5 separate regions of the Homo sapiens genome follow, and all the other regions are linked to region 2. Evidence: promoter capture Hi-C in 16 types of primary human blood cells and fetal thymus (Javierre and others, 2016). All regions are on one chromosome and are shown on one strand. The core of a region is centred on a gene start or on the middle of the fragment in contact, and the rest is flanking DNA. Distances in the headings are between cores, read along the strand shown.

Evidence for each region. Contacts are between HindIII fragments. The CHiCAGO score rates a contact against its expected background, and 5 or more counts as called.
Region 1: a contact is called between a fragment that was not itself captured here and the fragment with the promoter of SELENOS in region 2, in 2 of 17 cell types (M1 macrophages and M0 macrophages). The highest score is 5.8, in M1 macrophages.
Region 3: a contact is called between a fragment that was not itself captured here and the fragment with the promoter of SELENOS in region 2, in 1 of 17 cell types (megakaryocytes). The highest score is 6.5, in megakaryocytes.
Region 4: a contact is called between a fragment that was not itself captured here and the fragment with the promoter of SELENOS in region 2, in 10 of 17 cell types (megakaryocytes, M0 macrophages, endothelial precursors and 7 more). The highest score is 14.9, in megakaryocytes.
Region 5: a contact is called between a fragment that was not itself captured here and the fragment with the promoter of SELENOS in region 2, in 1 of 17 cell types (monocytes). The highest score is 5.9, in monocytes.

Annotation. Positions count from the first base shown.
Region 1 is chr15:100,982,550-100,988,530 of GRCh38, reverse strand. It overlaps LRRK1 (leucine rich repeat kinase 1), which reads right to left. Exons shown (of 34, transcript NM_024652.6): 4 at 4,832-5,003. Among named protein-coding and RNA genes, the nearest start is that of LRRK1, 66 kb to the right of the region's middle. The HindIII fragment of the contact is 704 bases long and covers 988-1,691 here.
Region 2 is chr15:101,273,592-101,278,887 of GRCh38, reverse strand. SELENOS (selenoprotein S) reads left to right here and starts at 1,403. Exons shown (of 6, transcript NM_018445.6): 1 at 1,403-1,546; 2 at 2,213-2,347; 3 at 3,527-3,633; 4 at 4,207-4,296; 5 at 4,393-4,468. The coding sequence starts at 1,471. RefSeq lists a silencer at 1,198-1,527. The HindIII fragment of the contact is 1,843 bases long and covers 446-2,288 here.
Region 3 is chr15:101,606,060-101,611,412 of GRCh38, reverse strand. All of the region lies in intron 2 of LINC02348 (long intergenic non-protein coding RNA 2348), which reads left to right. Among named protein-coding and RNA genes, the nearest start is that of LINC02348, 5.6 kb to the left of the region's middle. The HindIII fragment of the contact is 1,050 bases long and covers 2,191-3,240 here.
Region 4 is chr15:101,016,001-101,021,995 of GRCh38, reverse strand. It overlaps LRRK1 (leucine rich repeat kinase 1), which reads right to left. Exons shown (of 34, transcript NM_024652.6): 13 at 814-943; 14 at 39-151. Among named protein-coding and RNA genes, the nearest start is that of LRRK1, 100 kb to the right of the region's middle. The HindIII fragment of the contact is 2,106 bases long and covers 500-2,605 here.
Region 5 is chr15:100,938,794-100,944,339 of GRCh38, reverse strand. All of the region lies in intron 2 of LRRK1 (leucine rich repeat kinase 1), which reads right to left. Among named protein-coding and RNA genes, the nearest start is that of LRRK1, 22 kb to the right of the region's middle. RefSeq lists enhancers at 2,473-2,622, 2,663-2,802. The HindIII fragment of the contact is 8,526 bases long and covers 1-5,546 here.

The sequences.
Region 1 (5,981 bases), core at 90-2,589, 290 kb after region 2:
AAAATGTGGTACATTTGCACCATGGAATACTATACAGCCATAAAAAAGAATGAGATCATGTACTTTGCAGCATCATGGATGGAGCTGGAGGTCATTATCCTAAGTGAACTAACGCAACAACAGAAAACCAAATACTGCATGTTATCACTTATAAGGGGGAGCTAAACATTGAATGCACGTGGACACAAAGAAGGGAACAATAGACACTGGGGACTACTTGATGGTGGAGGGAGGGAAAAGGGGGAAGGTTAAAAAATTACCTATTGAGTCCCATGCTTATTACCCAGGTGACGAAATAATCTGCATACCGAACCCCGGCAACATGCAGTTTACCCACGTAACAAACCTGCATATGTACCCCTGAACCTAAAGTAAAAGTTAAACAAAACAAAACAAAACCCAGCTGTCCTGTTTCCAGCTGAAAGTTGCTTCTGTTGAGTTGATAGTGTTTTCTGGAATAGTCTCTCTGAATTGCATATGACATTTCCCCACATCAGTCACCCACCTGCTTGTCAGATAATGCCGAGTGATGAAATGGAGGATTAAAAATGGCGTATCCAGCATGATCTTAGCCAAATAAAAAATGGGTGTGTGGAAATAAGACTAGAAACAACTACCCCAGCATTGTGGTATTTTCTCTGGGCTCTCCCCTGCCCTCACCCCTCCCCTAGGGTAACATTACATGCAGGAGTATGAACTTTGGAGACAGGCATTTTAGAAATAAAATAATTTAGTATGTAATTTTGGACACATTTCTTAATCTCTCTCTGTTTCAGTTTGCCTGTTGGTAAAATCGGAATAATAATACTCATTCTTCCAAGTTTAATGTGAGGACTACATCACAAAATGCATGTCAAGTGCCTGGATCAATAAACCCTAACTCATGATGTTGTGTCATTGTATTATTAAAGTACTGACACTTTCCCACATTTTAAAATTATCTATAATATACATATATTACTTTCATGAATAATAATAATAAAAGCTTTGGTGAAAGATCTGTCAGGCCTAAAAGTGACAATTTCTCCCCAGTAGAACCACCTACTTAATTCCAGGATGAAATAACACTTAGCACATTGAATTGACGGGGGCAGTGTGGGCTGAAATGTTACAATATCTTCAAGTTCAAAATAGTGCAATATCTTTTGGGTCTAGTTGCCATGGAAAAATGACCTCATCTTCTGCAGGGACACTTCCCAAATGCATCATAACACTGCCTCATTTCCAGAGGCACATAGTCCTAGGGATCAAAGTGCTCCCAAGTGAGGAGAGAGTGACTCTCTCCTTCGCGACAGGACATTGATCAGGAAACCGGGGTCAGGATGGCCCTGTATTCACCAAATAAAGCATGTAGCATAGGGCTGAGGCTGGAGCCAGTGCCAAGTAAATATCCCTTCTTCTCCCTCTACTGTTAACCAGAATTAATGATTTGTAGGTATGTTAACAGAAAATAAGTGACCCCTAATCCACTTACACAAGAATATCTGGGTAAGAGAAACACAGTAACCATGCTAGTAACTTCTGTTGAGATGGGGATGTGTCAGTCTTTGGAGGCAGGCATTATATTTCAGGACCATGATTTTAAGATGAGGAAACCAAAGCTCAGAGAGGTTTGGAAATGTAGGAGATTGGTCAGAGTCGTAGGAAAAACTACAGGGAAAGGACACAAACCTTCTGAAAGTTTGGAAGCTTCTGCAGAGCCCTGGGGGAGAACAGCTGAAGGCAGAGGGCAAGGAGTGTAGGGGAATGTATCTTAAACAGGCTTGTTTACTTATGTTGACCAGGAACTGACCTTTGATCATCTGCTGGCTTGATGTTCCCTGAAAGGGGAACAATAAATGTTAATTACCTACAGGTTGTGTTGGCTCCAGGTTTTCGGCATTGTGCCTGCACTGAATGAAAGCAAGCAGCTCTAGCTTCTTCGGGCTGCTCTCTGGCCAACAGAGCCAGGCAGTGACTCAGCTGCTCTTACACCGTACACCTGTGTCTGAGTACTCATTTCATCCATCAGCCAGGGTCTGTGGGACACACCTGGCAGGGAAACTTCTTGAAGGTCCCACAGTTAGTAAATAGCAAGGTCAAGACTTAAACCTTGCTTTGTCTAAAATCAAAGGGTGCTCTCTTAACCACACAAAACCCCTACAGGTACTCTCTACAGCCTAAGGCCAACGACACTCAGAGGAGCCCCTCTTCCTCCCTGCTCAGCTTCAGAGACCAGGAATCACATAACAACGTGCTTCAAAGAATGCATCCCATCAACCTCTCATCCCTCTTCTTCTCAAACCCTCCTTTGTTCTCTAGCTGCTTCTTGTTTTTGTTTTTTGTTTGAGACAGGGTCTCCTTCTATCTCAGCCTGGAGTGCAGTAATGTGATCATAGCTGACTGCAGCCTTGGACTCCTGGGCTTAAGCCATTCTCCCACTTCACCCTCCCAAGTACCTGGGAATATAGGCATGTGCCACCATGCCTGGTTAATTTAAATTTTTTTTTTTTTTTGTAGATACAGGGTCTCACTATGTTACCCAGGCTGGTCATGAAATCCTGGGCTCAAGTGATCCTCTTGCCTTGGCCTCCCAAATTGTTGGGATTACAGGCATGAGCCAGCATGTCCAGCCTGACTCTTGTTTGTCTTCTTGTCTTGACTTACTCCTGACCATGGCTGACTTCCCTTCCAGCTTGGGAACTCCTTTGCAGGAAGTGCAGGGATGGGTACACACTGTTTTGCCCATCTCTGCACTTTCTGCAAAGCCCACCACAATGGTCTGAAATCCTTCAGTCCTCAGCAGCTTTGCTCAGAGTTGAGCTGAAGATACGATGCTCCTGGGAGCAGTTGAAAACCATGACGAGGTTCAGCCACACTTCCTGCTCTGCAAAAGCAGGCAACCCAAGTCCTTCCTTCACTTGTCTGCCAAGTAAACTCCTATTCACTCTGCAAAGCCCAGGTCAGATGTCAGCCTCCCTTCGGAGACCCTACCCTGCCCCCTGATGTGTGCTCCCAGACCTCTGCGTAAAAATACTTCAACCTCAGTGTAGTTACATTGCACAGTGTTACTCCTTTCTGCCTCAATTTCCCCTGCTTGGCCAGGAGGTACTAAATGGCTGGGAAAATCTTTAAAAAAATTATCTGTCTCTCACGTTCTACACAGTTTTCAGCACTTGACAGTATTCAATAAATATTAGCTAACATTAGGTGACGGAGTCAGCTGGTGCAGACTCTTCAGGGCTAGAACAGAGCTAATCTTGGGGCTCCCCGAGAAGAGGCAGGTCAGCCTTTGGCTCCTCAGGAGCACCCAAGCTCCTCTCTGCCCTCCTATGTCTTGTCTTAGTATGCTTCTCATGGGCCCTAAAATTGCCCTGATTTCTGCCCATAACCTCATTCTGTTCAGACACATGAGGGGAACACTAGCTTGGAACCAACGCTGAGCACAGATCTATCAAAGCCCACAGCTGGAAACCCTCAAACAAGACCACTATATAAGGGGTGAGGCCCAATGCAAAATGAAAAGAATGGGGCTTCTTGTTTAAAAATCATGAAACATTTTAAGATAGTGAGTACAGAGTATTAAACGTAACGTGGGCCCTTCTAGGTGCAGGGCCCTGGGTGACTGCATGTTCTCCCACCCAAGAGGTGGGCCCTGGCTCCCAAGCAAAATCTCAAATCCCAAAGACCATGGCTAGGGTGTGCCTCACCCTATAGCTGTAGCGATGCCTGCCTAGACTGGTGCAGTGTTTCTGAGCCAAGACCACCACGGGAAATTACAGGAGACCAGGACATCTTGAGTTCACCAGAGAAAAAAATAGTTCCTACAAAAGCAACATAGTGTGGTACACCAATACAATGGAATATTATTCAGCCATTAAAAGAAATGAGCTATCAAGTCACAAAAAGGCATGGAGAAACCTTAAATGCATATCGCTATGGGAAAGAAGTGAGTTTGAAACGGCTACAGACTGTGGGATTCCAACTAGAGCGATGTTCTGGAAAAGGCAAAGATAGTAAAAAAGATCAGTAGTTGCCAGGGGCCAGGGGAGGGAGGGAGGGAGGGAGGGATGGGGCCAGGGGAGGGGTGGAGCACAGAGGATTTTTAGGGCAGTGAAACTGCTCTATGTAATACTGTCATGATGGACACGTGTCATTATCCATTTGTCAAAACCGATGGGATATACAACAGCAAGAATGAATTGCAACGTAAGCGATGGACTTTAGTTAGTAAGAAGGTATCAATATTAGTTGATCAGTTGTCACAAATGTCCCACACTAACACAAAACAGAGTTATAGGGAAAACCATGTGGAGGGCGCACAGTGGAGGGTCACCTCTCTGAGCTTTGTTTTCGTCATCTTAAAACCATGGTTCTGAAATATAGCACCTGCCTCCTGAGACTGATGCGTCCCCATCTCAATAGAAGTTACTAGCATGATTACTGTCTCTCTTACCTAGATATTCTTGTGTAAGTGATTTAGCGATCACCTGTTTTCTGTTAACATACCTCCAAATCATTAATTCTGGAACTCCGTACATTCCAATTGATTTTTTCCATAAATCTAAAACTTCTCTAAAAAGACCAAGGTCTATTAATTATTTTTTTAAAAAGCAATGTTAATTACATTCTTTATGAAATATGGTGTTTGAGAATTTCCCTTATGAGTTCATGGGAGTGAGAGGTGGAATGTGGCTGGCAGGCAAGCTTCACTTTGTTTGGGTGTCAATGGCCTACCCTGTATTTCTTGATCTCATTATTGGTGAAAGCATGAAGAAGTAAACATTTTGGGGTGAAGCCTAAGAAGAGGGTGCCCTGAGACACGGTTAAGAGCTCATGCCCTGTGATTTACCTGGTAAGGACTCAAGCAATTCCTGCACAACTGCCGTGTGTCCAAAATACGCTGCCACCACGGCTGGGTTGTCATCCGTGGGCTCGGTGGGCAGCTCCACCAGTCTCTTGCTGAGTAGGTAGCGGACCATCTCCAGATCCCCATAGGCTGCCGGGATGCTCAGAAGCTGGCCCTGGTCAAAACAGAACAGGGCTCCAGTGAGACTGGCTCTATTAGGAACTGCCAAGACAACTGACGTTAAACCCTTCACCAGGTCCCGGAGCAGGACTGGAGTTGTGTTGTCCAGAACGGCAGCACCTGCCAAGTGTGACTGGGCAGCACTTGAAATGTGGCTCCTCAGAAGTGAGAGGTGGAGAGTATAAAATCACACGTGAATTCAAAGACCTAGTACAGAAAGGGTAAGCTAGCTCATCAATAATTTATGTTGATTACATGTTGAAACAATGATTTTAATATATTCATGTTAAATAATATTAACATTTTATTTGTTTGTTTCTGTTTGCTCCTTTATTTTATTTATTTTTTTTGACAGGGTCTCTCTCTGTTACCCAAGCTGGAGTGCAGTAGTGCAATCTCAGCTCACTGCAGCCTTGACCTCCCAGGCTAAAGTGATCCCCCTGCCTCAGCTTCCTGCGTAGCTGGGACTGCAGGCACATGCCACCACACCGGCTAATTTTGTTTATTTTTTTTGTAGAGACCAGATCTTGCTATGTTGCCAGGGCTGGTCTCGAACTTCTGAGCTCAACTGATCCTCCAACCGGAATACCTGTGATTATAGGTGTGTGCTTGTTTACTGCTTTAATGTGGCTACTAGAAAATATGATATATACATGTGGCTCGCATTTGCTGCTCTCGACTACCTGCTTCATGAGGAAGGGGACGGTGTGCATAGCCCCTTCTGGCATAGAGCCAGAGCTCAGTAACCACTTGGTACATGTTAAGTCAGCCTTGCGAAGGGGGAAGGGAACCAGCTCTCTGAAGAACCATCCTGCAATGTATTCATAAATGGAATGTGACACACCAGGGGACTTCACAGATCTGAATCCTGGGACAAAGATCCTCCAGCAGCATGCAGAGGGACTCTTGACTTGGTGGCCCAGAGGAAGGAAAGGATATGGTGGAAACTGGACCTAAGCCTGAGTTCCTGCTC
Region 2 (5,296 bases), core at 154-2,653:
ACAGCCTAACAAAATAGTTGAGGCAACCCTGCTCATCCTGTCTAGTTTATCAGTATTTAGATGTAAGGCGGATTTAAAGCTAATCTGGGACTGAGAATTGCAACTAATTCCATAGAAGTCATTCAATTTAGCACATAAATGTTCCTGCAAGATGCCAGAGCAAGTGAGAAATCATCTGTAGCAAAGCAAAGAGTGGTGATGGTTCATCACCTTTTACAACGGAAAGGCAAACATGAAGAAGGAAATTCTCCCTCCTAAAATTCCTCATTAAATCGATAAGCTATCTTCACAGCCTTTATGGATAACATCCAGAGTCCTCGGTTCATCTGAGGAGTCCATTTTCAAGGTGGCCAACAGGGAAGAAGAGCTTTCAGGCTTCTCTTTGCTATGGCTCATGAATGCCAGGTCCCCTTTATTGCTTTCTGAACACACTGCTGGGAAAGCTTGATGAGGTCAGTGCTCAAATCCCTGCAGCTGTCCCCCTTGAGGAACTTCTTGGCAAACCTGCATTGAAGAAACACTGATTGCGTTCACGCTTCATGTCATGGTTTGCCTTCCCCACACTGCTCCTGGCGACAGTGGTGACGCAGCACTCGGATGTTGTCACCTATTCATTATTTTTTCAGTTCTATTCCCAATTCCCAACCCTTCTTTTGAAACACAGCTAGGTATGTGCACTTCAAATGCTCCAGAAAAACCCAAGGTCACATTTCAAATAGGATGGTTATGGTCACCATAAAGGTGGTGACGTTTGAGTGGTGGAAGAGGGTGCGGGACGGCGTTGCAGGCAGAGGAACACAGCCAGGACACTATTATAAGTAACTCTGTGATCGTGTCTTGTGGTGATACAGTATAATTCAACACAGGTTAGAGCAGTTACTATGATCGTTCTTTCCTAAAAGGCTTTGATTTTGGAGAAAGAACCTTGAGGATCGGTGGGGACTTTCTTGGCCTGAAAGGTATCACCAGCAGCAGGAGCAGGAGGCTGCTCACATTTCGTGTCTTCACTTGGGGTGGACGTTGGCTGCAACCCTCAAATGCTGGGAGTCGTCAACCAACTGAGCCCTGTTGTCCAATGTGCCCCGGGCAAGGATGTGGGTGCAAATCCTGCTTCCGGGCGACCACTGACTTCCTTGGCTTCAGTGTCCAATTAGAAAAAAAAAAGAAAGTAGAAATTCGGTAAGAAATCCGTGAACGAGGTCCGTCCTCCACCCCCGACTCAAGCCAAGAGATAGCACAGAACGTTCCCACACGCGCTGTCCCGGCCCCGGCGAGCGTAGCCGGGATTTCTCCCCCGCCACGCCCCTCGGCCACGCCCCCCTGCGTTTGGCCCAGCGACGGGGCGGGGTCGGCCTGCGATTGGCCGGGACCACGACCGCGTCCGGGCGCGCCACGTGTGCGTAGGAGCGCACCGGAAGCGCCCGGCTGGAGGCGCGGCGGCAGGGCTGGGCGGCGGCGGCGGCGGCGGTCATGGAACGCCAAGAGGAGTCTCTGTCCGCGCGGCCGGCCCTGGAGACCGAGGGGCTGCGCTTCCTGCACACCACGGGTGAGTCGTTGCGGGGCAGCCGGGCGCGCGCCGCCACTTTTGCGACGCGCAGCCATGATGGGTGGGTCGTCCGCCGCTGCACCGGGCGCCGGAGCCTGGGAGGCCTGGGAACGGTCGGGCGTTGGCGCTTACGCGGACCTTGGGCAGCAGGCCCGGACCTTGCGCGGAGGCTTCTCGGGAGCCGCACTTCCCTGGGCGGCTCGGCTGTCCCTTGTTTGCGCAAGTCTTTTTTGCGAACCAAGCCCTTCCTGTGGTAGTTACTGGGGTCACTCGGCCGTTGGCGTTTGCCTCTGGGACCCGTCCCACACAGCCCCATACACACTCCTGACTCCCCGCGCTGTCACCCCTTTCTATGTGGCTCTGAAAGGCCTTTGCCTTCCTGATTCAGATTAGTTGCTCTTCATTCTTCAAAACCCAGTTGCTGTGCCCTCCACACTCTAACTGCCCCCGACTCCCCAGATGGTTGGGAAGTCTCACTTCTCAGTGATCCCTGAATTGTCGCACTTCTTGAGTTCGTGTTTTAACGATCTACTTAGGAGGCTTTTTCCTCAGCCTAGACCATGAAGGCTTTGAGGGCAGGAGTTACACTTTGTGTTTGTTGAGTCTTATGGAAAGGTCAACTAGTAGTGTCATTTTTAGTTTTTTGAAAACTGTTTTTCTTTTCAGTGGGCTCCCTGCTGGCCACCTATGGCTGGTACATCGTCTTCAGCTGCATCCTTCTCTACGTGGTCTTTCAGAAGCTTTCCGCCCGGCTAAGAGCCTTGAGGCAGAGGCAGCTGGACCGAGCTGCGGCTGCTGTGGGTTAGTGCCTGATAACCGAAATGAAAGCGGTGGTTTTGCACCTCCTTTATATTAAGAGTTAGTCTCTTAGTAAAAGTAAGAGGGGCCACACAGGAAGACCCTGTCTCTATTTAAAAAAAAAAAAAATAGCCGGGAGTGGCGGCACGCACCTGTAGTCCCAGCTGCTCAGGAGGCTGAGGCGGGATAATCACTTGAGTCCAGGGAGTCAAAGCTGCAGTGGGCTATGCTCGGGCCACACTACACTCCAGCCTGGGCAATTGATTGAGACCTTGTCTTTAAAAAAAAAAAAAAAAAAAAAGTAGGAAGTATATGGTTCTCGGTGGGGCGCGGTGGCTCACACCTGTAATCCCAGCACTTTGGGAAGCCGAGGCAGGAGGATGACTTGAGGTCAGGGGTTCGAGAACAGCCTGGCCAACATGGTGAAACCCTGTCTCTACTAAAAATACAAATATTAGTGGGGCGTGGTGACGGGCACCTGTAATCCCAGCTATTAGGGTGGCTGAGGCAGGAGAAATCGCTTGAACCTGGGAGCTGGAGATTGCAGTGAGCTGAGATTGTGCCACTGCACTCCAGCCTGGGCAACAGAGTGAGACTGTCTTTTCTTTCTTTTTTTTTTTTTTTTCTATGAGATGGAGTCTAGCCTTGTTGCAAAGAGCGAGACTCTATGAGTAGACGTTATGAATAGAAATGAGTTCATTTCTATTCATAATGCTATTTGGAAGGATTTTTCTTTTCTGTAGAAACAAATACTTAAGAATCTTCTGCGCTAATTAAGGGATGGATAATGATTTAGAAAACTTTATATTTCCTTGGTAGTCTTCCAGGATTCTAGTCAGCCTAGAGACTGTGGGTGTCACTGAGGTATCCAAGATGTGCTCTGTGTGGCCACTATCCCAGGCTTTATGAATCGGAATTGCTCAGGGGAACTCAGAAATTGGCATTTCTAACAGATTTCTGGTGATGTAGATATTTCGGGCTAAAATCCGTGGCTCAGCAACAGACCCCTGCCCCCTGAAGCAGTAAAATGTATGCAGAGGGGTTAGGAGTACTTATGTAAAAATATGTTGTTTCATTGTCTGATATCCATACCTCTTTATACTTTTAATAATATGGACACTCAAAAGTTTCTATTTTATATTGTACACAGTGCTTTATCTCCATTTTTTTCTGACATTTTAGAACCTGATGTTGTTGTTAAACGACAAGAAGCTTTAGCAGCTGCTCGACTGAAAATGCAAGAAGAACTAAATGCGCAAGTTGAAAAGCATAAGGAAAAACTGAAACAAGTATGAACTGGTTTCAGTTTGAATGTGTGCATAGAAATTGTCTGAGGTTTAGTGGCTAACGATGCCTGTGTCTGTGTTGTCTATAAGCTTCTAGGACCAGGTCCTATCCCATTAGATTCAATAAGCATTTCAGTTCCTACCATGTAAGTATTGGTGATATCAAGAAGAATACACGATTGTTAGGGAACACTAGATGTGTGAATATATTACCATGAAAGGTCCAGAGCACAAAAGGAGGGACAGGCTGGAGCAGGGAGCATGTGAGTGTGTGTGTGCATGTGCCTGTGTCTTCCCCATTACCAAAAATGTCCTGACAGGAGTGAGTTTCAGAAGAATGGAGTCAGTAATCTTTTTCATGAAACATTTTGCTTTCTTTAATAGTGTACAAAAACCAAAGCTGCTCTATGTGAGTTAAACTCACACTACCAGATCACAACAGTTTTATTAACTAAAGAAAACGAGGGTGAAGTTTGTTCTGAAAGACATTTAAATTAAGAATTATCAGAGTTAGCTTTGTCTTTGAGAGAAATGGCAGCTTCTGAATTCTTTCTGTAAAATGTGATTGTTTCTCAGCTTGAAGAAGAAAAAAGGAGACAGAAGATTGAAATGTGGGACAGCATGCAAGAAGGAAAAAGTTACAAAGGAAATGCAAAGAAGCCCCAGGTGACTGGAGACCTCGGCCGGCTGGCATGCGGTAGATGAAGATTGCCAAGTAGAATGTTTTAATTGCTTCTTACACTACTGTGTGTGTTCAAACAGGAGGAAGACAGTCCTGGGCCTTCCACTTCATCTGTCCTGAAACGGAAATCGGACAGAAAGCCTTTGCGGGGAGGAGGTAAGCACCACTGATGTCAAATGTTAACAGATTTTCAACACTTACAGGATATAGTTACCTTTTAGGAACAAGATTGTTTGTTTCTTTGTCCATAAATTAAGACTAATTCCTTAGGATTGTGAAGATTCAATAAAGGAAACAGATGCAAATCACCTCCTAGGTCCTCACTAAGTACTTAGAAGGATTGTACTTATAGTATTCTAACTTGATCCTTCTGCAGCCCCGTAGAGGGAGAGCTAAGTAGGGTGAGGAATTGTCTGCCAATCTTCAGATGAGTGTCAAGGAGCTGGAACACAGTGGTTTTGGTCTTTCTGGCTGGGACCACCTTGTTTCTTGCAAATAACAAGGAGTAGCAGACAGATGCTCATCCAAAGCTGCTTCCTGTGTGCAGCACTGCCCCGGGGACTCTGGATGATGCCACAGCAGTCTGTCTTCATCCCATCCCTGAGAATTTCAAATCTGGGAAGATGGGACTCACAAACGAAAATAAGCAATCCTTGGTGATTCTGGCTAAGAGTTGCAAGTTACTGCTGAGGAAGGAAAGAACAAACACACTAGAACACTGTAGGAACCAAGGCGGAAGATTTTGTATCCTCCATAGGAGGAGAGGGGCACCGCAGAGGCCCTGATGGTGTCTTTGAGGACTGAGGAAAGACTGGGGCATGGGCTCCAAGGCAGCAGGGCCACAGACTTGGCTGACCTTAAACGCTGAGCTGTAATCCCCTTTGTGTCAGAAGACTAAACCTGGCTTGCTGTAGAGAAGGTGATGCATCTGGAAAGAAAATGCTATTTTTAAATGGTCCTGCCGGAAGCTTATTTTTAGACACA
Region 3 (5,353 bases), core at 1,466-3,965, 330 kb before region 2:
GCCAGGATGGTCTCGATCTCCTGACTTTGTGATCCACCCACCTCGGCCTCCCAAAGCGCTGGGATTACAGGCGTGAGCCACCACGCCCAGCTCTTTCATCTACCTTTCACTAGTGAGACCATGAAAGGGGACATGTGGAAGCCAAGCCGCTGCTAACAGGCCCATGAATTCCCGACTTAGCGACACTTTGTTTAAGCACAGGGAGATGCAGCTAGGCGTGGCCAGGGCAGACTGCAGACGGGGCTCCTCGGACACTGAGCCACGGCTTTCTTGAACTAGGTCAGACATCAGACGCTGTTTTAAGGAAGAAAGGATGACCCGAAGGAGGGCCTTTGGTTGAGGCCTGGAGGAACAGTGGGGAGGAGGGGCAGGTGATAAAATGAGCAAGTGGGGGCAGGGCGGGGGCAGCCTTGGGTAGGGCACTGGTGAAGGGCAGTCAGAGAAAAGAGAGTCTCTTCTAAGAAAGTCCACTCTGAGCCCTGCTTTTGAGTAGGATCTCTCTAAGAGTGCAGCGTGGAGCTTGCAAAGGCTTCACTAGTTAGACCTGGGACGTTGGCCCGAGCATGACAGCAGGAATGGAGAGGGGTGTGCAGAGGGTGACGCAGGAAGGGGAGGACTGCGCCTGGGAGGAGGGGACCGTCACTGGCCCCACAGTCTACAGGCTGCCTCCCAGGCCAGGGCGGTCCACTCACCTCAGGTCTTTCCGACCCTGTCCTTGGGTACTGTGAGGCTCTCTGCATCACCCCCATACTCACATGTCCTGCACTTGCTGTTTCTGGGGTCTTCCCTTAGCATCTTGCTTGTGGGAGAGGTTGGTCCTGTCTGCACACTGAACCTTGAAGACATCCGTCATGCTGACCCCCGACCCCAAGGTGTCCCCTCTGTTGAGAGGTGCTCCAAAGCGGAGTGTAGCCCTCTTCCCTCATTAGCACAGGCTCTGGGCAGGCAGCCTCTGGGACCTCGGCCCCACCAGCCCAGCCCCCTTGGCAGAGAGCTCTTGGGGCTCCCTGCCAGCCGCGCAGCGCCCAGCGTTGCCCTAGTAGCAGGGACGGCTTGGGAAGGGTTTTATCTCTGGGAAGGGACTGTCTCCTCTGGGTTTTATTATAAAGGCTAGTTGGTCCCTGGGAAAGTGGAAAAGGAAGATCAGATGACCTGCCTGCATTTTGTTTTCTCTTGGCGAAGGCTGAGCTATCTGATGGCAGGTCCTGAGATCAGCGTCTGGGGCCAGTTCCCAGGGATAGGCTATCCCAGCAGGACCGCAGCACCTGCTGATGCCCCTGCAGCTGCCAGATCCTGGGAGGTGGCATCACTGTGCCTGCCATTAAGGTGGACGTGAGGCAGGACTTCATCCTGGAGCTGGAAGAAGCCTCAGGGTCATCAGTCCTCAGAGTGGCATCAGGCCCACCCTCACCGCACAGGTGGGGCCTCAGGCCTGGGAGCGTGACCGACTGGCCCCCAGTCTTTCCACCAGCCAGGAGTAAGGTCGGGACTAGACTCCTGACTCGCTGACCACCATACCTACAGCCATTCCCTCACTCTCCTTCAATGACCTCAAGTGGGGGCAAAAGAGCGGCTGCCATGACCTCAAGGACTCTCAGATGCATGGCAAACGGCAGGTCTGACCGTGCCGGAAAGGGTCCAGGGGAAGGCTGCTGCCTCCATCCTCGGGCCAGGACATGAAGGGGCATCAACGTCAGGGCAGAAAACAGGAGCAATGGGAGGTCCTGAGTGAATCCTGCAACAGAGAAACTCTTGCCTGCACCCTCTCCTCTGTCCCCCCTCCACCGCCCCATCTCAATGCCACAGGCTGAACCGGAGACCTGTCTTGATGCCAGAGGGGGCCAGCAATTGCCCAAAGAATGCGGAGCTCCCCCTGGTTTGTTGCTGGGGGCCCTTAATCCCAGTGCTGTGCTGGAGCTGGCTTGTAACATTCAATAGAACCAAGCGTTAAATGTGCTCAGATTTTGTGAGCCAGTTGTAAATATAGGCATTATTCACAATTAATCATATGAACTTATAATCAAATATGTTAACAAACACCCCTTCCCAATGAGTTTTACTACTTTTGCTATTTTCTATGCTTTGAGGGTTACTTGCATCTATTATATCAATGCCGTGGGAAGAGTATATAGTGACAGCTACTGGGCATCTCTTCCCAAGCCCACAATCTGTGACGTCACATTGAAAGCTTGGGATTGGCCATGATAGGAGTATTTACACCATGGAAGTTGGCAAACACTGCAAATCAGAGCTTGTGTTATTGTTTTGTTGATTTTCTAGGCTTAAGAAAGTAATAAAAAATTGTTAATAGTACAGATTCAACTTATAAGTGGGTCATGTCTGGGGCCATTTGTAGCAGTCTGGCTCTAATCGGGAGACAGAAATCACACAGCAGGTTAAACAGGGGAAATTTAAGTTAAAATTATTAACAGTTGTAAAACAGTAAGATAGGCCGGGCGCGGTGGCTTATGCCTGTAATCCTAGCACTTTGGGAGGCCGAGGTGGGCGAATCATGAGGTCAGGAGTTCGAGACCAGGCTGACCAACACAGTGAAACCCCATCTGTACTAAAAATACAAAAATTAGCCAGGCCTGGTGGCAGGTGCCTGTAATCCCAGCTACTCGGGAGGGTGAGGCAGGAGAATCGCTTGAACCCAGGAGGCAGAGGTTGCAGTGAGCCGAGATCATACCCCTGCACTCCAGCCTGGGCAACAGAGCAAGACTCTGTCTCAAAAAAAAAGAGTAAGATAAAAAGAAGCTCTATGCAGTATCCTAGGGCTGAGGGAGCTCCCAAAGTAAAAATGAAGTTGTTTGGGGTTCAGACATAGCTGGAGAGGGTGTGGTTCAGCCACTGGATAGCAATGAAGTTTAGCCCAGAGCACACAGCTACAGCTGGTTTGGAGTTGGTGGACACACAATAGGCACCCTCTGGAGGGCAGGCAGGGAACAGGTGATTAGTAACCAAAGGCGTGAACTGCAGTGGGAAACTGAGTGCCCCCAGGGCAGAAGGCCTTCTGGGTGCTGAGGTTGCTTGGCGGGTGGAGAGGTTGCAGAGGAAGTGGCAGGCTGCGTAGTGAGGTCGGAGGCCAGCTGCTGTGTAGACAGTCACCGCCAGGCATGGCCACAGAGTCATTGTGTTCTGGCTCTGAGGCTCCGTCCGACTCCACGGGATAGTCTCCGCTTGGCTGACCTTCCTGGAAATTACAGGAAAGTCCTTCCAGCACCGTCTACTGAGAAAGCTTCACATCCTGTTCACTTTAAATTCAAAATGGTTAAAAGGTTCCAATCTTTGTCCTAAAGCACATATTGAAAGGTGCATTCAGAGCTGAGATGCAATAGATTAAAAACTGCCTGTGTGAGTTTCCTGTGGCTGCTGTAACAAATTACCAAAAACCTGGTGCTTACAACAAGGCACATTTGTTCTCTTACAGTTTTGGAGGTCAGAAGTCCCAAATCAGTTTCAGCAGGATGGAATCAGGGTGCCATGAGGGCCGCTCCCTCCAGAGGCTCCAGGGGGGTCTGTTTCCTTGCCTTTTCCAGCTTCTAGAGCTGCATTCCTTGGCTCGTGGCCCCTTCCTCCGCCTTCAAAGGCAGTGGCTTAGCGTCTTCAAAATTCTCTCCACGCTGTCTTCTCATGGCCTTCTCTTCTATGTCAGATTTCCCTCTATCCTCTCTTATCAGGACATTTGTGATTGCATTTGGGACCCACCCATGTAATCCAGGATAATGTCTCCTTCTCAAGATCCTCAACTCAATCACATCTGCAAAGTCCCTTTTGCCACATAAGATACATTTGCAGGCTTCATAGATTCAGATCTGCGTATATTATTTGAGGGCCATTATTTAACCTACTACACTGATGCACCCCTATATTGTGACAAGCAAAAAAATTGAGGATTTATTCTTCCAGTGCTTAAAAACTGTGGCCTGATTGATTCAGCAAGGAAGTCACTTGTGACATTGATGAATAAGTGAACTTCTGATATTCGCCTTCATTGTCTCACTTTTACTTGTTAACATAAATGAAAATATCAGCCTCATGAGAATGAAACGAAATGAAAATAGCCAACCCTCATGTGTAAAGCACACTTAGTCATCATATGCAAACAGACATAGGCTGTAGATACAAGAGTTTGGAAAAACTCAACAAAGGCATTCTGTGAGGATCAACCAACTATATGCAGCTTATAATAAAGGATATTGTATCATTATGTTTTGTTGTACATTCTTTATATCAGTAACATTTATAATAAATTATCTCTTCATTTATATGTGTATGTACACCCCACACACACACACACACACACACACACACACACACACACACACACACAATCTTTCCCTCCAGAGGGCCAGCTGTTGAGCATTTATCAGCCCACCACTGCTTAATACTTATTTCCAGTAGGGAGGTAGAGGGAGCCTAAGGCCCCCGAAAAGGTAAAGTGCTCTTTGCACCTGAGGGTGGACCTTGCAGTCCCGAGCTCTATGGTGAGCCTGTCACCCACCGTGGTCAGCTACCTCCATCCACAGATGGTTAAATGGATCTGGATCAACCACCTCCGAGGATGCCTGTGTTTCAGCGGAAGATGAGGCTGTGAGTTTTCTGCATTTCTTCCCAGTACAATCCATCGATGGGGGGTTGTTGTTCCCTCTGTCTTCACTGCCTGTGGCTGCCCTATGCCGGGTTACTATCACCCCCATGTTCCCACCCAACACAAACCTGCAGCTTCCTGCCTGACTTCCTGGACCTCTCGTCTGGCCTGCCTTTCCTTTCTTTTCCTTTTTTTTTTTTTTTTTTTTTTTTTTGAGATGGAGTCTCACTCTGTTGCCCAGGCTAGAACACAGTGGCACCATCTCGGCTCACTGCAACCTCTGCCTCACAGGTTCAAGCAATTCTCATGCCTCAGCTTCCTGAGTAGCTGGGATTACAGGTCTATACCACCACACCCAGCTGATTTTTTTATTTTATTTTTTTTTAGTAAAGACGGGGTTTCCCTATGTTGGCCAGGCTGGTCTCAAACTCCTGATCTCAGGTGGTCTGCCCACCTCAGCCTCCCAAAGCGCTGGGATTACAGGCATGAGCCACCACGCTCAGCCGCCTTTCTTTTCTTGAATGAACAGTTGACAAGATCAATGGGACCTAACCTGGGGTTGGGTGGGCCTTGGGCTGCCATTTCCGATTGTGCCCTTTCTGTTTTTAAAAGTACCTAGACACAACTGGATGCAGAGCTTATTCAAAAGGCCTTCAGGACAAGGGGGAAAGATTTTGTAAGGAATGGAGGGAGCATCATCAGTGGAAAGCCTGCCTCCACTTCCCATCCCTGTGATCATGACAGACATCACTAGCTGATCAC
Region 4 (5,995 bases), core at 303-2,802, 260 kb after region 2:
AGAGGTGATGGCAGGGGACAGGGCTGCGGAAGCCCTACCTTCTTTTTGGATTTCTGCAGGCACATTGCTGATGGTCAGGTCTTCAGTGTCCAGCTGCCAGAGGTTGCCCAGCTGCCCCAGCTCAGGAGGGAGCTCCCGGAGGCCAGGGTTGCTGAAGACAGATGTGTCCACCACGAGAGAATACACACACACACACACACACACACACACACACACACACGCACACACGTGGCTCCTGTCAGCCTCTGCAGCCTGTACCCCAGACCCCACACTTTGAGCCCTGATTTCAACACTAATTCCAAAGGCTTTCTCCTGGAGGATCAGTGATAGAAACGGCAGCTCTGTCTTCTGCAAATCCCCACGGCTTAGAATTGAGTCCCCTCCCCCAACTTTCCTGTCTCTGCTACTAAGTACATCCCCATAAAGATGATCACTACCTCTTCCCGAGAAGGCGATGTCCCTTTAATATTAATATAACATTTTACACTCTCATCAAGCTTTGCACACTGCCTAGAACCCCTGGCAGTAGCTGGCATGCAATGGGAGCTCAGTAATGAAAGGATGAATGATTGAGTGGTTCTCCTCATCACAGCCCAAGTGATGTAGTGAAAGTGTGTATCATTGCATTGCTACTCCGTCTTCCTCTCTCCCCACCTCCTTGATCAAGCCCTGTTCCGAAAATCTCACTACTGCTTCTTGGAAAGTAGATGGCTTCTTTCTGCCTGGCTTTCTGTGTCCCAGTTGGTTTAGGGATGGGCGTTCTGCCTCTCTGGGCCAGCAGAGCCAGCACGGCCCCTCCAGATGTGTACTTACTTTCCCAAGTAGAGCTCTGATAAGCTCTTCAGTAGGCAAACCGAGGGAGGGACTGTGTCGAGGTGGTTGTCGTTCAGGCAAAGGACTTCCAAAGACTCACTTAGGAAGGCCGGAAATTCCAGCACACTTGCTGCAAAGACATGGCAAAGCAGACTGCATTTAAAAATAATTCTGGACCGTCACAGCGTGGTGACCAGGTGGGCGTATAAACTGATGCAACCTCCAGAGGGCATTTTGGCAAGCCTATCAGAACAAAATGCTCACCTCATCGACCTAGCAATTCTCATTCTACAGATAGCTTTGCATGCATGTGTGGCAAAGATGTGAGAATGAGGACACTCAGTGGCAGAGATAGAGGACAATCTACAACAACCTATGTGTCCAGCCACAGGGGGTTGGTTCAATGAGTAATAGAATAATTGCAGCTATTACAAAGTATGGGGCAGGTCTACATATATGGGGGTATGAAGTAATACTCAAGAGCTACCCATCAATTGAAAAGGCAAGGTGCGCCAGGCTGGTGGCTCACGCCTGTAATCCTAGCACTTTGGGAGGCCGAGGTAGGGGGATCACAAGGTCAGGAGTTCAAGACCAGGCTGGCTAAGATGGTAAAACCCTGTCTCTACTAAAGATACAAAAATTAGCCAGGCGTGATGGTGGGCACCTGTAATCCCAGCTACTCGGGGGGGCTGAGGCAGGAGAATTACTTGAACCTGGGAGGTGGAGGTTGCAGTGAGTTGAGTTTGTGCCACTGCACTCCAGCCTGGGTGACAGAGCAAGACTCCATCTCAAAAAAAAAAAAAAAAAAAAAAAGTTCAGAACCGGATATCTAGAAGGCTTATTAGTGTAGCAGAAAATGTGTGCACACATGCATGCACACACACGCATACCATGTATATGTTATATGCACACACACCACACCTGCACATGTGTATGCACAGAGGTTACAGTTGTTAGACAGGAACACAATGGTTACCAGAGATGCACTGAACTCCATAGTTGTCTCTGGGGAAAGGAATTACTAGAGGACTGAATATTTATCCCATGCCCTTTGCTACTGTTCAAAAACGGTGTTTTAAAATATACATGCGTTGCTTTTTCCATGAAAAAAAGCTAGTTAATGAAAATATACCACAGTTGGCTGTTTTTATGCTTCTTACAATGCCATTCTTTGAAAAGCCAGCCAACTGTTTAGTATTTAAGTGACTTTATTAATTAGGCTCACTATGAGATTACCATGAAAATCATGTCAAATTTGCTGTTTCCACGGGCACCAGAGCATTTGAGTTGAGAAAGAGCTTGGAAACGCACACTGATGGGAATCAGAGGTTTGGATTTCAGCAGAATCTCTGAAGTGCCTTTATCCTCCCTACTAAGGCCTGGAGAGGGGGCAGGACAGCATGCCTGGGAGCTCGGAGAATTCAAGATTAAACAACTGCCTCAAAGCCCTCTCATAGGGTTCCCTGCCAGACATGGAAAATAGAGAAGCCGGAGTTCTTTTGTTGGGCTGAAACCAGGCTCGGTTGCCCTTGATCATAGCTACCCCGCCTCGGCTCTGGCTTTCCTCCACACATGTAGCTGCAATAACAATGGTAATGGGTAACCTGGCCTCTGAGAACATTCAGGGAGAGCCGATAATGGAATACCAAAACCAATGCCTGGAAAATCTGCCCAGCTAGCTGTACTGTGAATGGGACTCACTGCAGGGGCTCCTGCGGAAATAAAGGTGCACCGGCCTTCTAAAGATGGCTTTGTATGAGTCCTTGCTAGGTAAGGAAATGTTCAAAAAGCTTCCTTTTTTTTCCTTCAATGAAAAAAGATGATCAATATTAGCCTGCCCTAATTCACATTTTCATGAAAGAACGTCATAATGAGAAAGGCTTACTTTCTCCCCAGAGAACACATTCTAAACACCTGGCCTCTGTGCTTTCCAAACTTTTAAAGTTTCGCTACGGTGTTTATGAAGCCTCTTTAAGTAAGAGATGGCTGGAATAATGAGCTATGATTGCAAACAGAGGCAACACCTGTAACAGACCTCCTGGCCCAGTGTTGAAAACGATGGGCACTGAGCTGGGGAGAACACAGTTCAAGGTATTTAAGAACTGTAATTATTTATTCATAAGTTATTTATGACTCTGCTGGTCTGATTTTTACCGTAAAAACGGCCATCCAAATTATTTTTGGATGAGGCCACTGCACAAATATGACTATTTGGATGTACATAAATCTACTTGGAATTTTACTATCCTACTGCAAACAAGCTGTCTTTTGTAGATAATTCCTTACCCAAGGGTCCATGGCCCTGGGAGAATAACCCTACTGAGGAAAAGGGTTTGCAAAGAGCCGCCTTCTTTTCACTCAGGTGTGGGCCTCAACTTTCTAGATGAAGTTTAAAGAATCAAGAGGCCTTTGTCATCTGCCAAGGCCAAGATTCACCTCTGCCAGAGAACCTCCCAGGGGCGCGGCCCCCTCACATGGCTCCCCAGATGTACTTCTGCGGGCTGCCAGCTGTCACTTTCTAGAGCATTGGTACCGCGCGTAGTCCTATGGTGCTTTTCCATGCATGCCTGTGATTTTCCCCACTGGCGTCTCATTGAGTGCTGAGCCCACTTCCTTGCACACTCCTCCGTGGTCCCAGGAAGGATTCGGCATTTCTAAACTGGAGACACGTTTCTAATCCACACAGCAAGTGGCTTGCGTGACCGAGGTCTACACTAGCTCCTGTTCTCATACCCATCATCCCGCCTGGCATGAAGGAGAAGATGGTGTTTGTTTCCCCTTCCTTCTAAGTGAAATCCCTATGTCTGGACTCAATTTCTACAGTCCTAAGGCTCTTCATTTATAAAAGGATCAGTTATGAAATTCATAATTGCATTTCCCTATTCGTGTGGTTAAGGACCTTTTCATTTGTTTCCTGGCCCTCTGGACTTCCTTTTCTGAAAATTGTTTATATCCCTTGCCCATTTTTTTTGCCTATTGTGTTGTCTTTTTTTTTTTTTTTTTTAAATCAATTTGTAAGCATTCTTTGTATATCAGGGACTTAAGCCAATTTGTGTTGCAACAATTTGTGTTGCAAATATTTCTTCTTAGTCTGTTTGCATTATGACTTGGTTTATGATGCTTCCCACTGAACACAATTTTTGAATGTTTATGAAGCCAATGATTTCAGTCTTTTTAAAAAATTATTCCTGGATTTTCCAACTAGATTTTAAAGATCTCCCTCATAGCAAAGTTATACCTATATTCCTTAAATGTTATTGTTTTCTTTTTTTATACTTAAACCTGATTGTTGTAATCTAGTATCGTGTTTTGTCCCCCTTCCAGGCAGGAATATCAACACCGTTTATTAACGCACGCAAGCATCCTTTTACACTAAGTTGAAGTTCTGCCTTTGTCATATATTACATAATAACAGTCCCCAACCTTTTTGGCACCACGGACCGGTTTTGTGGAAGACAATTTTTCCATGGACTGCAGCATTGGTGAGGGGGACAGTTTAGGGATGAAACTGTTCCACCTCAGATCATCAGGCGTTAGATTCTCATAAGGAGGGCACAACCTAGAGCCCTCACAGACGCGGTTCACAATAGGGTTCGCGCTCCTATGAGAATCCAATGCTGCCGCTGATCTGACAGGAGGTGGCGCTGATGCTCACTGGCCCACCGCTCACCTCCTCCTGTGTGGCCTGGTTCCTAGCAGGCCAGGGACCAATACCGGTTCGCTTCCTGGGGGGCGCTGGGGACTCCCGATGTATTTCTATGTTTACTGAGGTCTATTTTTGGACTCTTTTATCTGGTCCACTGATATTCCTTTTTCAGTCACATATAAATACACACGCTCTTATGGGACAGATCTCTATGTGTATCATACTCAACACACAAGCACACCAGTTCATCCAAGAGCGTAGCAGCGGCAAACTCCCTAGTTCACCTCCTGCAAATGTGTCCTGGCCTCTGTGGCGTCACTCATCCCTACCTCATACTATCTGTACTTGCCAACAACCATCTATCAAACTGAAGAAGAAAGTTGTATTATGTTTAAAACAACCTGGATGTGGGTTCTGGTTTTCTGGGCCAGCATCCTGAGGGATATTTCTGTGAGCAGAGCTGGCTTTGGAAGTTGTAGCTTTGAGGTTAAGAAGCAGAGCTGGTTGTTTAATGAAAGGGACAGCTCCATACCTTCCCCTGTGTCTCACAGAAGATAATGGAACAAAAAGAGCTTGTTTACCTAGATGTACTCTCTGCTGAACTGGCCTTGTTGTGTGACCAGCACAAAAACTAGGAAAGTTCTGTCTCTGTTGAGTTTTGGGGAAGACCACGAGCCCCTGTGCAACCTTGGCCTCACCTCAGCCTGTGGGTCCAAAGGCGGCCGTGATCCATGTGGGCTTTGCAAGATACCATCGTGTGGCAGTAGAGACTTAACAGCACGTAGCTGCTGGTCCAGGGCTGAAGTCCCACAGTCCTGGGATGAAACCTGGCTCTGCTACTGAGAAGCAGCCACACAACCTGGGACAAATCAGTCAGTCCCTATGCCATGGATTGAACTGTGTCCCCCGCCCCCCACCAAATTCATATGTCGAAGCTCTAATACCCAATGTGACACCATTTGGAGATGGGATATTTGAGCTGTAATTAGGTTTAGATGAGGTCATGAGGGTGGGGCCCTTATGATGAGATTAACATTCTTATAAGAAGAGGGGCCGGGCGTGGTGGCTCACACCTGTAATCCCAGCACTTTGGGAGGCTGAGGCAGGCGGATCACTTGAGGTCAGGAGTTCAAGACCAGCCTGGCCAACATGGTGAAACCCTGGATATCTGAGAGGAGGGCGCCAGCACTGTCAGGGGCTAGCAAGGGCCTTCTTCCTGGCATCCTGTATTGTATTAAAATACAAAATTACTATTTGGAGATGGGATATTTGAGCTGTAATTAGGTTTGGATGAGGTCATGAGGGTGGGGCCCTTATGAGATTAACGTTCTTATAGGAAGAGGGGCCGGGCACAGTGGCTCATCTCCAAAAATACAAAAATTAGCCAGGCATGGTGGCACATGCCTGTAATCCCAGCTACTTGGGAGGCTGAAGAAGGAGAATAGCTTGAACCTGGGAGGCGGAGGTTGCAGGGAGCCAAGATCGCGCCACTGCACTCCAGCCTGGGCGACAGAGCGAGACTCAGTCTCAAAGAAA
Region 5 (5,546 bases), core at 2,916-5,415, 340 kb after region 2:
TGGGTTTTTGGTGCATAGCTGAGTTAGATCAATGCTGCGCTGTGGTTGTTGCAGTCACAGATCTTTTTCCTGGATGGAGAAGCCTGCTTGTGTATGGTGCAAACTACTTCCATTTAGTACAAGCTCTGGCTGAACAACAATAGGTCTCCTCCTTTTTTTCATGAGCAATATCCTGATATTAAAGCAAGAAGCTCCATGATTCCTCAGCAACTGAAACACTCTGAGAATGTCTGGGCCCCACTGTGAGGCCCCATGCCCACCCAAACCTCACTAACAGCCCCGCTTCATGATTTTTCTCTGACCTGTGTTCAAGGCATTCATTATGAATGGCTGGAGGCTGAACATTTAAGATAAGGGATCACGACCGGGTGTGGTGGCTCACACCTGTAATCCCAGCACTTTGGGAGGCCGAGGTGGGCAGGTCACCTGAGGTCAGGAGTTCGAGACCAGCCTGACTAACATGGTGAAACCCTGTCTCTACCAAAAATACAAAAATTAGCTGGGCATACTGGTGGGCGCCTGTAATCCCAGCTGCTTGGGAGGCTGAGGCAGGAGAATCGCTTGAACCCAGGAGGCGGATGTTGCAGTGAGCCGAGATCACACCATCGCACTCCTGCCTGAGTGACAAAAAAAAAAAAAAGATACGATCACTTGCAAACAAATGATCACAAAAATGCCAAGAACTGAGGAGGAACTAAACTTATTTTTAGCTTAAAAAAAAAAAAAGAACCAAGTAAAAAGGGACATTATCTAAGATCCAATTCAGTAAGTTTCTGATAGTTTATCTTTGTAACTTCCTAAAGCTACTGCTTGTTTATTTAAATTTTTAGAAATCATATGGCAATAACAACAAAGATAGAAATTTGTTGTTTTGTAGAAATTTGGGGGAGAAAGTGAGAATAGAAACATTATTTTGTAAAGGCAGTGAGTAAATATTCAAAGGAAACACTTAGGTTAATTCATTTAACCCCATCAGATGCTAGTATTAGCTCTGCTTACAGATAAAGAAAGAGGTCCCCAGAGAGTCAGTGACTTGCCCAAGGGAGGGGGCAGAATTTCCACTCTAAATCACTGAATTAATTTTTATTAAAAAGGCAGAAAACAATGACTCAGCAAGCTGTTACACCCCCTTGGAGTAAAACAGAAAGATTAAAATTACACTTGAAGGAAAGGCAGGCCATCTTGTCCCTATTTTAAGAAAGTGAAATAATTCACTTTACATAGACTGTTGCCTTAGGCCCAGGAGTCTTTATATAAGATCCCAATTTGGAACATACCAAGACAGTTTGTGCATATTTTTATTAAGTCACTTCTGAGTTACTCTGTGAAAACCGGGAAAAAAGCACCTTCCAAACTTGTTGAAAAGGGATGGCCAGCACTACGGGTTGATCAGTAAGCACTGGCGGATGGAGAACCCTGGGAGTTGTTCAGCATGGACATGGAGGCCGTCTCCGGGTGAGTGCACACCCCACCCGCCCACTGTGAGCAGAGAGGCCTCATGAGGACCCAAGGCTGCTACCAACAGAACCAGAGGGGGACTCCGGGCACCCATCGTCAGCCTTGCTTACTCCGTGAATTGTCGAACTTCACACTGTACCAGTTTTCTTCAGTGAGACATACAGGTTTTGTAATTTGGAAAAAAAAGAAAAGAAAAAGCATTCTGAAGATAAGGCAAGGAAAGATTTGGACTTTAATTGAAACATTTTAATTTAAAATGTTAATTAAACAGCTTTAATTTTGATGATTAGATTTGAGGGTCATCACACTTTCGTGTACACACATTTGGAAATGAAGACTGGCCACATTTTAAATCCATGTCTTCCATAACTGTGAGCCATGCCTTCTCTAGCTTAGAGCCAAATAAAATCGGACTCACCATTTTGTAAGGACCCTACTTTTTAATCATTGTAATATTATTATCATTTTCCCTAATAGAAATAGAGTCCAGTTGAGGCTACATAATTTGCCCAACAGAGAAAGAGAAAAAGAACAGGCCATTTTTTTTGAGGGTCTGCCTAGCATGTGCACTTAGTATGGTGCTAACCATTCCGCAAACAGATTCTAACCCTGCCCCTGTCACAGATAGGACTAGCTGTGGAAGCATCAGGATTTGAACCCGGTTCCTTCCGACTGTAGAGCCGGTTCTTGACATTCTCACTCAGTATTTCCTGCAAGTGCACACCTTGGAGATGCCCAGGAGACGCTGGAAGATGAGATCAAGACAGTAGGCTGAGCCCGGCTGCAGCCACCACCTCCTGCTCCAAATCCTTAGAAATTATTACAAATATCAACAAGCCTTATTAGCATGGGAAAAGAAGTGACCTGAGAAGACCGGAATCCACTGTGCGTGAGGTGGAGAAGGCTTGGGAGAGCTCCGAGGCTGCTGGGGGACATGGGAAGCAAGAGGGTCCCCAGGTCACCAGCAGGGCGACTGGGAGGAGTGGGGAGCCATAGTGGGCAGACTCCTGTGGATCTGGCCCCTCTCCAGCTTGTGCCAGGCAGCCTGGGACTGATGGGTCTACACTCGATGTGGGCTAAAGAGAAAGTGTGCTGGGCAACTCCCAGGAGGCACACGGAGCCCACCACCCGGAAGCCATGCTCTGGATGTCCCCAAGGCAGCCTGCTACAGTCCCCTGGCCCTCCTCTTCGCAGGCTATTGTGACAAATGCTGTGTTCACAGACAGCTACGGGGAATCCCGAGCAGAACAGTCAGCATCCACCCAGGCACCCGCAAGCATCTGAGGAAGAGCAGCGCCATAAAGAGAAGCACGAAACTCCTCTAACCAAGCCAGCACACAGGCAGGCCACCGATCAGCAGGAAGAGACATCCCACCTTACACACACACACACACACACACACACACACACACACACAGAGACATAGACACACACAGACACACACACACACACAGACACACACACACACAGAGACACACACAGACACACACAGAGACACAGACACACACATACAGGCACACACACACACACACAAAGACACACACAGAGACACAGACACACACACACAGACACACACACATAGACACACACAGACACACACACGGACACACACAGAGACACAGACACACACACAGACAGACACACACAGACACACACACAGACACATACAGACACACACAGAAACACACATGCACAAAGACACACAGACACACACATAGATATGCAGACACACAGACACACATACAAAGAGACACACACAGACACACACACACAGAAAATATTTATGTTTCCTCTTTATGTAGCCAAGGGCACAGGCTCATTGGAAGCAGTCTGATCACCTAGGGGAGAAGCTGTGTCATATTTCACCACTGTCCCCCTTGGGCCTCAGAGTCCCCAGGAGGAAGTGAGCAGCTGACAGTGACAATGTCTCTGCAAGGCAGGGTCTAGCCAGGTCAGAGGGCCTGCACATCTTGCTGCATCCTCACATTACTGTTCGGGGCAAACCTACACAAATCACACAGTCACTGAGATAAGACAGCTTTGGGCTTTCCTGATTCACAACACAGCTTGGTATTGTCAACTGTTCATCCTTATCTTGGAGGAAAAGACTGAGTTAGCATGGGAGCTTCCCTAAGCAGAATCTCAGGCTCCAGCTTTCCAGCACCTCCAGGGCCCCTCTCTACACAGAATTAATGTTAGCAGAGCGAGAATGAATTCAGAATAAATATTACTGATGTCTTGGAGAGAAACAGGAGGATGCAGCATCCACAAACAAGAATCAACTAAAACTCTTGGGAATTAAAACGAGAAGAGTTGCACTGTGAAGCACAGTGGGTGAGCTGCAGAGCAGAGACACCGTTGAAGGACAAATCAGGAATCTGGAAGACCAAGAGGAGGATGCAGCACCAAAAGACAAGGAGGCCGGGAGCAGAGATAAAAGAGTGAGAGACATTGAAGATATTTTTTGAAGTTTTTCAAAATGTGTCTAATGAGAGTTTCAGAAACATATACTTAAATAAATAAGAATAATTTTCAAGTTGCAAAAATATGAGTCCTCAGAAGTGACAGGATACTAGTCAAGAAGAGTAAATTTAGAAAAAAGAAGAATGAAGGACTAGTGAAATAAACAATCTTATGGAAAGACTGATCAACAACAAAATGAGAGAGAGAGAGAGAGCAGGACATGTGAGAACACAAAAGCATTATCTGAAACAAAGAGATAAAACTATATTAGAGAACTTAAAATCATGGCATCATCAGCAAAGGACACAGGGATTCTTGGAGAAACAGTGCATCGTGCATCCGGGGCAGGATATGGACAATCTGGCCCTGGATGTCTTGTCACATCAGAAAGCAAGGAAGTTATCAAAGACTTCTGGGGTCATGCCAAAAGATAGAGGAACCTACTCAGGGGGCCTACTGGCAAAAGAGGAACAGCGTTAGCATCAAGAATCAAATAAATTAAAATTCATGAGTTCATAATGATACTAAGGAAAAAAAACCCCACCTTCATTGGCCGCCTTCAAAAGGTGCTAGGGAATTGACTTATTTTCAGTAGAATGAATAAGAAAACTAAGAGAAAAAAACCCAACTATTTACCCCGACTTTGCTGTACAAACTGTAACTCAGGGTACCACAGAGTTAATGGAAGAAATTTCTTCTTTAGAGATCACTTTCAGCTGATAAATGAAGAAGGTAAGATAGACTTAAAATAACACCACTTTGCAACCTCAAATTAAATAATTGATCTAAGCAACCATCAATGACTGATAAAACCATTGTGTGAAAAGTCGAAAAACCATTAGGACGTTTATAAAGAGTGATTGCGCTGACACCACTGAAAATCATTAAAAAACTCTAAACATCAGAGAGAGACAATTAGACATTCTGTGACTAGGTGATGCAGGAGGAAGAACCCACCATCTATTGGGCATTTTTGCCAAAACATCTTACTAAATCTAATCAGGCCTCTGGATCTACAAAAACATAGGGAAGGTGGGAACATGTCAGGCCACACATAGAAATGCAATTGCCAAAAATCCAGACTGTGGAAAATTGCAAAGGACAAACAATATGGCTTTATCAACAAAAGAAACTGCAATGAAAAAGAAATTGAGGGAGAAAGATAGAAATTAAGAGACTTAGGAACTGTACTGTCCCATGTCCCAGCATGCAAGGGCACTGACTCAACAAACCTGCCCCAAACAAACCAGTGATAAAAACAGAGACAATGCAGGACATTTGAACACTGACTAGATATTTGATATTTTGACTTTTTTATTTATTTTGAGATGGAGTTTCACTCTTGTTGCCCAGGCTGGAGTGCAATGGCATGATCTGGGCTCACTGTAACGTCCATCTCCTGGGTTCAAGCGATTCTCCTGTCTCAGTCTCCCGAGTAGCTGGGATTACAGGTGCCCGCCACCATGCCTCGCTAGTTTTTTGTATTTTTAGTAGAGATGGGGTTTCTCCATGTTAGTCAGGTTGGTCCCAAACTCCTGACCTCAGGTGATCCACCCACCTCAGCCTCCTAAAGTCCTAGGATTACAGGCATGAGCCACCACACCCGGCCCTCTCCAGCCAAGGGT